Linked DNA regions of Homo sapiens: all the other regions are linked to region 1. Evidence: promoter capture Hi-C in human tissues and cell types (Jung and others, 2019). All regions are on one chromosome and are shown on one strand. Each heading gives the region's core, a stretch centred on a gene start or on the middle of the fragment in contact. The rest is flanking DNA. Distances are from core to core; before and after follow the strand shown.

The links. Contacts are between HindIII fragments. The study calls those that stand out against the background at their distance.
Region 2: a fragment that was not itself captured here is called in contact with the fragment with the promoter of TBC1D21 in region 1 in 1 of the 25 tissues and cell types used here (psoas muscle).
Region 3: a fragment that was not itself captured here is called in contact with the fragment with the promoter of TBC1D21 in region 1 in 2 of the 25 tissues and cell types used here (H1 embryonic stem cells and spleen).

Annotation. Positions count from the first base shown.
Region 1 is chr15:73,872,164-73,875,890 of GRCh38, reverse strand. It overlaps TBC1D21 (TBC1 domain family member 21), which reads right to left and starts at 2,327. Exons shown (of 11, transcript NM_153356.3): 1 at 2,122-2,327. The coding sequence starts at 2,181. LOC102723657 (a long non-coding RNA gene) reads left to right here and starts at 2,356. Exons shown (of 6, transcript XR_932455.3): 1 at 2,356-2,596. The HindIII fragment of the contact is 7,159 bases long and covers 1-3,727 here.
Region 2 is chr15:73,835,517-73,839,115 of GRCh38, reverse strand. No RefSeq gene overlaps it. Among named protein-coding and RNA genes, the nearest start is that of TBC1D21, 36 kb to the left of the region's middle. The HindIII fragment of the contact is 6,547 bases long and covers 1-3,599 here.
Region 3 is chr15:73,916,039-73,919,663 of GRCh38, reverse strand. LOXL1-AS1 (LOXL1 antisense RNA 1) reads left to right here. Exons shown (of 3, transcript NR_040069.1): 3 at 281-2,196. Among named protein-coding and RNA genes, the nearest start is that of LOXL1, 8.6 kb to the left of the region's middle. The HindIII fragment of the contact is 5,743 bases long and covers 1-3,625 here.

The DNA.
Region 1 (3,727 bases), core at 1,078-3,577:
TTCATCTTCCCATATTCCTCTGTTCTTTGCTCAACCAACCTAATAACACCCTTTTCCATACACTGGGTATAATGACCTGGTAATCCGGGAGGGGAAGTCTGCAGTTTGCGAGGGGGCTGGATACCCTCCAGCTCTGCAGTGGTGCCTTTCCTAGTGTCCTGGGAAGCGTACTGCTAGATAGAGCAGCTATGGAAATCTCCCACCTTCAGGGTGTATCTAGGCAGGTTAAAGTTCTACATCAGCAAACCTGAGGAAGCCTTGGCCATTCTTCCCCTGGGGAAGGGGACCAGAAGTGGGAGCCCTAAGTGGCTCAGTCCCTCTAAAAGTTTCCTGCTGCTAGAGGCCTTGGCTTCAGGCATAAATCTCCTCTCCCCACTGCATCATTGGGTTAGGGGTTTTCTCCCATATTTTCAGTAAAAAAAGAAAGCCTTTGGAGGACAAGAAAAACTTTTTATGAGGGTTTTAATGCCAAGTTTCTCTGAATACTCATAGCCACAGAACCTCCAATAAAGCCCAGGGAAGGTCATTGACTTTGCTTAAGCTTCCCTCCCTCCCTCCCTCCCTCCCTTCCTTCCTTCCCTTCTTCCCTCCTTCCCTCCTTCCTTCCTTCTTTCTTCTTCTTCTTCTTCTTTTTTTTTTTTTTTGATGGAGTCTCACTCTGTCGCCCAGGCTGGAGTGCAGTGGCGCAATCTCAGCTCACTGCAACCTCCACCTCCCTGGTTCAAGTGATTCTCCTGCCTCAGTCTCTTAAGTAGCTGGGATTACAGGGACTCACTACCACGCCTGGCTAATTTTTTGTATTTTTTAGTAGAGACAGGGTTTTGCCATATTGGCCAGGCTGGTCTTGAACTCGCGACCTCAGGTGATCTGCCCGCTTCGGCCTCCCAAAGTGCTGGGATTACAGGCGTGAGCCACTGCACCTGGACAGGTTCTCTTTTCTACTCCAGTTCACCTGAGGACAAGATAGACTCCCAACCGTAACAAGGGGTTCCCACTTCAGCAATTATTACCAACCCAGGTGTGGAGGGTGTATCATCAGTACAGCACCGTGATGAAGAAAATGGTTTAAAACAGTGGTTCACAAAGCTAATTGTGCATCACAGTGCCCTGGAGGGATGAGTTACAAAAAACACAGATCTCTGGGCTTCGTCTCCAGTTTATTGGTTCAGAAGATCTGGGGCCCAAGAGTCTGCATTCTTACAAGTTCCCAGTTGGTGCTAATGCTGCAGGTTTGGATGCCACACTTTGAGAATACTGAGTTTTGCACCCCACCTGTCTGGGTCGAAATACAACTTCTGCCACTTAACAAGCTGTGTGACTGTAGGCAAGTGACAAAGTCTCTGTGGCTCCATGTTCTCATTTATAAAAGGAAGACAACAGCATTATTCACTTCATAGAGTTGTGATGAGAATGAATGACTATAAATAAAGCATTTAGAACATTCATCGTACATAATAAATGCTATGTGACAGTTTATTTTATTAGCCTTCTCTAAGCTCAGAGAAATGAGAAAGATATAAAGAAAATTTAAAGCAAGGCCTGGTGATAATTTGCCATAAAGCAGTAACATTTAAAACTCAGGGAGAGGAGTGTCCATTTTGCATTTTTATGTATCACTCTCTTAATCACTATGATTAATGAGACTTAAGATTGGCTAAAGTTATTGTAATTAGTTATGATTTTGAAAAAATACCGTGTGGAAAATTTTTATGACTGAAGCCGACTTCTAACAAATAGCTGTATCTTGTAAACTGGGTTTAGAACTACCTACTAACAAAAGCATTACTGCCACCTGGTGGCAGTATACCAAAATTGTTGGCAAAAAGCACCGATGAAAATCTATCAGCATCTTCAGGTTCGCACCTGCAAACCTACAACTCAATAAAGTTAGAATAGCACATATGTGGAGAAGGTTTTGCTGGCTTGGAAAGAAGGTGAAAGGGGGCTTGGATGTCTCAGTCCTGTCCTTGGGCTGATGGTAAGAGTAAGGTACAACCGCCCTTGCTCCACCTTCTATGTTAGCTCAGGGTTCTAGCTTTTCCTACCCAGCAGGGGAAAATGGTCCCAGTGCCAACCAGAGGCTGGGGAGGGAGGCACTCAGAGCTGACAAAGAACACGCACCAGGATGAAGGAGGCTGACTGTCTGGCAGAGAGGCTGTTTTCAGGAGAGAGGGTGGTCATGGCCCCTGCTGTCTTCCGAACAGCCTCTGATCAGAACTCACTTGGAGCCCTAGTGATGCTTAATCCTTTTCGGAGATGGGTTGCATTCCCAGGAGGAACTGGCTGCTCCTGACCTCCCACACTTGAACAGAGCCGGCCAGCAGTGTGTCACAAGTCCCCTGGAACTCTCATCACAATGACCTGGAACACGGGAACACCCACCTTTAGAGATGAGACACAAGCAGGAGAAGAGGGATTAAACCTGCTAGTTTTGGAAAAAAAAAAAAAAAGGAAAGAAAAGAAAAGAAAGAAAGAAAAACAAAAAACAACAACAAACAGAAAAATGCAAAACTGCAGAACACGCAGTGGAGGTTGGATTCAGAGGACATGGGGATCAGTGTGGGCTGTGCTGGTCAAGGAGGGCTTCCAGGGAGAGGTGGGCCATGAAGCCTTGCTCTCTATCTCTGACTCTTCCTCTGGACTCTCTTAGCTGGACTCCCTCCCTATTCCACCAGACCAGTGCCCAAAGTTGGAGAATAACTAGAAACCAGGCTTCAGATGTCTTGGGTACCAGTTATAAAGATTCAGAATCAGTATGTCAGTGCTGGGGCCTGGGGGGCTGGGGAATGTGTTTTGATATGCCTCCTGGGGTGACTTAGCTTCAGCATTGGAATGGTAGCTTCTGGGGTGGAGATCAGTTTTGTTTAGCTTTTTATTTGGAGCACTTACGATCGTGCCTGAGTAGCTGAGTTAATGATTTAATTGAATGGGAGAATAAATGAAGCTGTCTTAGACCTCATCTCACTTCCCTCTCTGTATGTATGACAGAGATTTGTGCCTGCCCCATATCACCTCCTACCCTGAGTTCCTTTAGGCCAGGGTCAACATCAGATTCCTCTGTGGTTCCCTCTCCCAATGCCAGTTCTGCCATCACTTGGCACTTGGTAGGTGCTCAATATTTGTTGCATGGACCCAAGGAGTTGGCTCTGCTTGGCTCCAGCATCACTCTTCTCCACCTTAAGCATTGCTTGCACTTCTACTCAGGTCCCATCTGGCTCTAAAGCATCCTTAGTCATTAGGAGATGATAGTAATTCGACCAACCAAATTGGAATCAGGAGCTGGGTGTTGGAATTTGGACTCTGACCTCAAATTTGGATGCTCCCCGCTTCTGAGCTACAGATTCCCCAGACATGAAATCAGAATACAGTCAACCTCTGGCTTTCACCTCCTTATTAACATAATGAATCACTGTCCATATGGAGTCTTCCACGGACACAATTCATTGTCTCATTTACTGTTTCTGTTCTGCTTGCCTGCGGCACTGCAGAAGGCCTTTTAAATCAAAATGCCTTATTATCGGCCTCTCTCCTCTACCCACTACCCTAGCTCAACCTAGGAGAGAGTTAAGAGCCTCTTCCCTTTGATCTACTGCCCCTAGGTCTTCATGGAGTGGGAGGTGGGCAACGTTGAGTAGGGAAGGTGTGGAGTAAGGATGGGGCCCCTTGCACATTAGGGTGGCTTCATTCTAAGGTCTGCAAGAAGTTTCCAAAGCAAATGTTTAGAGCA
Region 2 (3,599 bases), core at 674-3,173, 36 kb after region 1:
ACTCAGGACTGGAAAATTGCTGGCTCCTGCCCTGGGGCTGTCTGTAGAGCAGGCTGAATAAATCGCCACCCCGATCCTCTGCCCCAACTAGACAGCGTTGGCTGTGGCCCAAGGCTCTGATCCGGGACTTCCCTGCTGCCAACTCCTCCAGCCGGCTGTCGGCCTGCCTGTCCACTGCCTGCCCATGGGTTTCAGGGTGACCTGGGGCTTGTCTCCAAAACACTGCAGGAAGCTGTGAGTCCACCAGGCTGCCCTGTGCTGGGCACCTGCTCAACTGGCTTCTCGCCTGGCTCTAGCCCTTTCTGAAGTTGCATGAGAATTCAGGCAGCTCGTTTTCCTCCTCTGTGTCTGTATATCCTCTTCTACCAAAGTGTCAGAAGGTCTAAACCACAAGTTTTGGGGAAGAGTAAAGAGGGCCCCCGGAAGTGAAATGAAGGTTAACTATGATATAAGGGAATAAATCACACTTATAATAGCCTTTCATTTTGGTTTATTACCAAGGGAACTAATGAAATTGAATTCATCCACTGTGTTAAACACTCTTTCCCCATGAAAAGTGAATCCTTCAGCCTGGGCCACATAGTGAGACCCATCACTACAAAAAATTTTTAAAAATCAGCTGGGCATGGTGGCACATGCCTGTGGTCCCAGCTACTCAGGAGGCTGAGGAGGGAGGATTGCTTGCACCTTGGGAAGTGGAGGCTGCAGTGAGTCATGATCATGCTACTGTACTCCAGCCTGGGTGACAAAGTGAAATACTGTCTCAAAAAAAAAAAAAAAAAAAACAGACTCCGGTACTAGACTGAACCATGGTTCTGGCACAGACAAAGCTGTGGCCACAGGTTGGTCCCTGTGGCTGTCTAATCTCTGATCCTTCCCTGGACCACTCTCTCATCCTGAACAGTCTAAACCTTGGTCATAAATTGAAACTCGGCCCTGACCCTGGCCAGTTTGGGTCTATCCCCACATCCTAATCACTTACTTCTCACAGAAATGGGTGAAGAGAGAATAGCTGGTTGGGTGCATCCCTAGCCCTGTGCCTGTCATGGGTTCATAGGACGGCCCTTGTTCCCCAGGTCACAGGCCTACTTGAGGCCCCCTGTATGAAGGGTGAATAGTGTTTCTTCCTGGGGAGGAGCTGCAAGGCAGACGAGACAGGGGGCAAGGCAGAATCAGGCACCACTTCATGACCTTGAGGCCATTCCTTGAATGTGTCTGTCCCCATCTTTGTCCTCAGAGTCTTGTAGATACAGCTGAGAACTGTCTCAGAGTCACGGGCCTCTCCCTCTGGAGCAATGCTGAACCTCTCCTTTCCTCCCCATCTCCCAGGCCATCCTTCTGGTCTCTATCCTGCCCCAGCTTAAGAGTCTGCTCCCGGGGTTAACCGCAGGCACCCTGCCACCCTCCTCCTGGCCTTTCACAGCCTTGACCAGGAGAGGCCAAGGTTGGAGGCAGGGTGGGGCAGCTCCCTGGCTGATACAGCTCTGGAGAGAGAAGAGAAAAATGGCCTCCACTGGAGAGCTTTTCTCCTCTCCATCTCCAGCAATGCCTCCTCCAGGAAGGCTTCCAACACCCCTGTATCCTCTGAGCTCTCTCCAGCTTCCCTCAGCATAGACTCAATGGCTCTCATTTGGCAACAGCTACACACAGCCCTGAATATTGCTTTGTCTGCCAATGAGTTTTTATTGCTGCACTCCTGATGGGCAGGTTCAATTGAAACTACAGTAACATCAACACGATGCACGCTAGAGTATTAACACTTCTCAGACCTCATTTTACACTTAATAGCGGTGTGACAGGACATGGGCTCAGCTGCTCGGTGACTTCAACAAGGTAGAAGTTTATTTCTTATCTATGCAAAGGTCCAGCCTGGGTGGCATTTCTGTGACTGCTACCATGATTCTCTGCCATCCTAGGAAGTTGTCCTTGCCACTGCATCCTACCCCCGCTGGCAAGAAGGAGTGATAGTGAATATCACCAGGTAGCATTCAGCCTGCTCCCCCTCCCCGCCTGCTATGCTTTCACTGTATTACAGAGCCTGGAAGCCTCAGTACTGTGTTTGTCAGACTCCTGCCACCAGGATTCTGGATGTCACTAGTTCCAGCCAATGAGCTTTACTCACATGCTATTTGCAAGGGAGAAAGATGGCTGAAGCTGTTCTGCCTTAGGCGGCAGAAGCACCTGGCCTGCAGCCTCTGGCCCCTGGGATCCTCCAGTCCACTGTCTGGCCTCATTGCAGCTGGGGGTGGCTATGACATTGGCAGCAGTTTCCCGGAGCTTCCTGACCTCTGGTTTGTAGCTCCTGTGATGTGACTGGAAACGCTAACAACATCCCACAACCTTCATGCTTCCAGTCCTGCCAAGGAATTTGTAAGCAACCAGATCCCTCTATTAAATCTCTTTCTGTCTGGAATACCTAGAATAGTATTTTCTTCCTGTGCTACACCCAGACTGATTCTCAAGTGACACCTACCACACCCTACTGGCCAGAACCTGGTTCCATGACCACACCGAGGGAAGCTAGGAAATGTAGATTTTGTTCTGAGATGCCACGTACCCATCTATAATGCAGGCAATCTATTTAGCCAAGGAAGAGGGAGAGAACGGACGCAGAAGAACACTAGCAATCTGTCCTGCGTGCTGTGATAAACCCTAAGAAGATGAGAACAAGCCTTATGAGAGTGACTACCCCAGCTCTGCTAACTCTGAAGTACTCCAAGACCGTTTAACTACTACAGATTCCAGAACCCCAGCCGTGAATCCAAGTCTGCCAGTATGACAAGTTCCTCCGCCACTGATGTTCTGACCATGGTGTGGAGAGATAAAGCAAAATGAACGAGGGCTTGGAGTAGAGGCTCTGGGCTACCTTGCCAGCTGATCTAGCCTTCTGCCCCATGCTGACAAAGCCTCATGCTGAGCACCGGGAATCCAGAGAAGAAGGACTCGACATGGTTGCTGTCCTCAAGGAAGCCACTCTTCCGAAACATAGCAAACTTTTTCATCTCCATTTTGGCCCCTCTTGTAAGACATTCACCTCTCTTCCTCTCAGCCCTTGAAAAAAAAAAAAGTCCCTTTCACCTCCAAGACCCTGTCCCCAAATACCCTGCTGCGCAGGAGGACACCTTCTCCAACTCCCAGGCAGAGTACATGGCTCCCTCCCTGGGCTCCCCCACTCCAGTGATTGGTTCCAATTCATCCCCGGCCACACTGGATGGTGCTGGTCTATCCATGGCCCTGGCTCTGCCACTTGATGGGCTTGGTGGGGTCTGTGATGACAAGGACCCCATCTGTCTGATGAATTTCTGATGCCCAGACTCCAGCACTGCTTGCAACCCCAAATCTAGCCTCCATCCACACTCACCCACACCCTTCCCAGATTTGCAGTAGTTTCTCACACCTCTGAGACTCCAAAAATCGTGCTTCCTCCTCCTGGGACACTTTCTCCACCTCCCTCCCCAAGTGTTTACCAGCCAAGACCCACCAGTTACCTATCACCTTCTCCAAGAAGCTTTTCCCTGACCCCCAAAGGTGGGCTGAGCAACTCCTCTAAGCCCCCACAGCCTCTTTGCTCCTTGCTACACTGTCCCTATTCAGAGTGT
Region 3 (3,625 bases), core at 414-2,913, 44 kb before region 1:
ACTAGGGCCTCATCCCTGGCCCAAGAATCCTGCTCCACAGCCTTCTTGTGTCCCTGTAGGAGGAGAAACACCTGGCAACTTAAATTTTTTAAAATAACTTTTTTTTTTTTTTGAGACGGAGTCTCGCTCTGTCTCCCAGGCTGGAGTGCAGTGGTGCGATCTCGGCTCACTGCAAGCTCCGCCTCCCAGGTTCATGCCATTCTCCTGCCTCAGCCTCCCAAGTAGCTGGGACTACAGGCACCTGCCATCACGCACGGCTAATTTTTTTGTATTTTTTTAGGTGAGACAGGATTTCACCATGTTAGCCAGGATGGTCTTGATCTCCTGACCTCATGATCTGCCCACCTCGGCCTCCCAAAGTGCTGGGCTTACAGGCGTGAGCCACCGTGCCCGGCCAAAAATAACTTTTAAAAACATGAGTATAGCATACACACACACAAAAGTCCACAAATCCTAGGTGTACCACTTGATGAATGATCCCAACGTGAGCACACCTCTGGATTACCACCTGGATCAAGAAATAGGACATCACAGCAGCTGGCAGCTTCCAAGGAGAAGCTCTGGAAAGTTCTGCCTGTCTCAGCACCTGGCTGGATCGGAAACGAGTTTTCTTTAACCAGATTTTTAATGACTGACTTATGTGGACAAATCATAACTGAATGAATCACCTCCTTTGTTGATTTTTTTGGGTACTTTATTTGCTATTATAAATGATGCTGTAATAAGCACCCTTGAAGAAATCTTCATATCTGCCTCTCCTGTGTAGCAGGTCACAGTGCCTGGGTTTGGTTCTAGCCCTCATTTGTGAACTGTGTGACTCACCATGCCTTTTTTCTTTCTGTAAGACAGGAATAATGGTAAGAATTTAAATGGGGGTAATATGGAGCGCGTTTAGTTCAGAGCCTGGTGCATACAAGCACTCAATAAGTACTGGCGATTATTAGACCTTTAGATTAATTTATTAGAAGTTGGATTTCTGGTGAAAGGGTTTGAGTGTTTTTGAGGCTTTGGCACAGAATACCCAGCTGGTCCCAGAAAGGTGGTTCCCATTTACCTGCCCGAAGGTAATTCACCCTTACTGATACTGAGTACTGTTTTCTAAAAGAACATTAAAAATTGGATAGGTTAAAAACAGGTGAATACATTTTTTTAGTTGCATTTTTTTGGTTACCCGTGAGAGTGAACATGTTGCCATGTGTTTGCTGACCTCCTAAATGGTCTATTTGCTCCTACCTTTGTACCCCAAAAGTCTGCTCTCAAGATGGTAGCCAGAATGATCCTTTTTGAGACATAAGTCAAAATTTCACTCTTCTCCTTAAAGCTCTGCAATGGTTCTCAGGTTAAAAGCCAAAGTCCTGTTCAAGGCCTCCAGGGTCCTCACCACTTGGTCCCTTGCTCTTTCTGTTCTAGCCAACTTGGCCTTCTCCTGCCCCTCCGCCGCACCATGGCAATTTCCCCTGCTCTGTGTGGTCAACTACCTGAATCTGTTCAAAGCTTTGCTCAAATGTCTCCTTCCTGATGAGACCTCCCCAGCCCCTGAGCTCCCCATGCCTCACTCCTGATCGCCTTACTTAACCCTTCTTTTTCTTTTTTGCCAGTAGTACTTATCACCGTCTAAAATACTTCATAATTTACTTGTTTATTGTTTGCCCCTCTCCAATAGAATGTAAGCTCCTTGGGGCAGGGACCTTTGTCCTTTGTCTTGTTCACTGCTGTGTCCCATGTGTAAACTTGTCTGGCACAGAAGAGGTGCTCGATAAATATTTGTTGAGTGAATGAATGGTAAATTTTCTGTTCATATTCTTTGACTATTTTCTATTGTAATGTTCATCTTTTTAGTATTGGTTTATAAGATGTATATTTAGCACCTTTTCATATATCACTCTTTGTCACATATTATGCAACTAATTTGTCATTTCCATCAATTTTTAAAATACTTTCTTGATGCTTCATTTTTAAGCTGTCAGATTATTAATCTTTTCTTTATGGTCTTGGACTTTATTGTTGCATAACCGCTGCCTTCACCAGGAACATATAAATTTTCAATTAAATGTTCTTCTGAGATTTTATGATTTCACTTTTTATATTAAACTCTTCATTTTGTCTTCATGTGTGGTGAGAGGTAAGAACATAACTTTAAAGCAAATTAACCAACTATCCCCAAATGAATTATAAATAAATTAATCATTTTCCAATGATCTGAAAGGCCATTTTATCATACACTAAATATTTTTGTGTGTTTGACTGGGTTTACCGTTCTGTTCCGTTGGCCTATCACATCGTTCTTACATTGGTATTTGTTGCCCTATTTTAATGATTGTAACTTTTTAATAAGGGTTAATGACTGAGAATACAAGTCCCATTGTTTTGTTTTATTATTTTTATTATTTTTTTGAGACAGGGTTTCACTCTGTCACCCAGGCTGGAGTATAGTAGCACTATCTCGGCTCATTGCAACCTCTGCCTCCCTGGTTCAAGTGATTCTCCCACCTCAACCTCCCGAGTAGCTGGGACTACAGATGCATGCCACCACACCCAGCTAATTCTTGTATTTTTAGTAGAGACAGGGTTTCACCATGTTGACCAGGCTGGTCTTGAACTCCTGGCTTCAAGTGATTCACCTGCCTCGACCTCCCAAAGTGCTGGGATTACAGGCGTGACTCACCACGCCTGGCCCATTTTTTTCTTTTGAGGTGTTCTTTGTGGCAATTCATATATTCTTTAAGATAAATTCTAAACTTTTTTTTTCTGCCGAGATAAACTAGCAGACAAATCCCACTGGACATTGCAATTGGATTAGTTTTGTAGATTAATTTAGTGATAATCAACTTCTTTGCACCATTGAGTGCTTCTGTCCGGGAACGTGGCATATCTTTCTATTATTAAGGTCTTTTTTATTATAGGTCTTTAGGGAAGCTTTATTTTATAGATGAATGTAGTGTGTTTGGTGCTTATTTTCATAAAATAAAGCAATGACATCTGTGGCAGGCAGCTTCTGAAATGGCTCCCAATGATCCTTACCTTCTGATAGTCACCCCCTTGGAGAATCCCTTTCCTTTGTGTGTGGGCTGGATCTAGTGACTTGCTTCTCATAAATAGAATATGGCAAAAAATGATGGGTTGTTACTTCTGAGATTAGGTTATAAGAGGCGAATTTCTGTTTTGCTGTAATTTTGTCTCTCTAACCCTCTTGCTTTCCTGTGCTCATGAAACCAGCTGCTGTGTTGTGAGCCACCTTATGGAAAACCCATGTGGCAGAGAACCGAGGGTGGTGGCTGGCCAACAGCAAGCCAGGAGCTGAGGCCCACAGTCCAACAACTGGTGAGGAACCACATGCTGCCAGCAGCCATGTGAGGGAACTTAGAAGCAAATCCTTCCCCAGTTGAGCCTTCAGATGACACCAGAGCCTTGGCTGACCCCTTACTTTTACCCTTGTAAGAGACTTTGAGCCAGAAGACTTGGCTAAACCACACCTGGATTCCTGACCCACAGAAACTTGAAATAATAAATGTGTTGTTTTAAGTCACTCGGTTTTGGGGTAATTTGTTACATAGCAGAGATAACTAATATAGCCCCCCTTTTTTGCATCATGTTTTCTAACAGTTTATTAGGAAATGAAAATTTA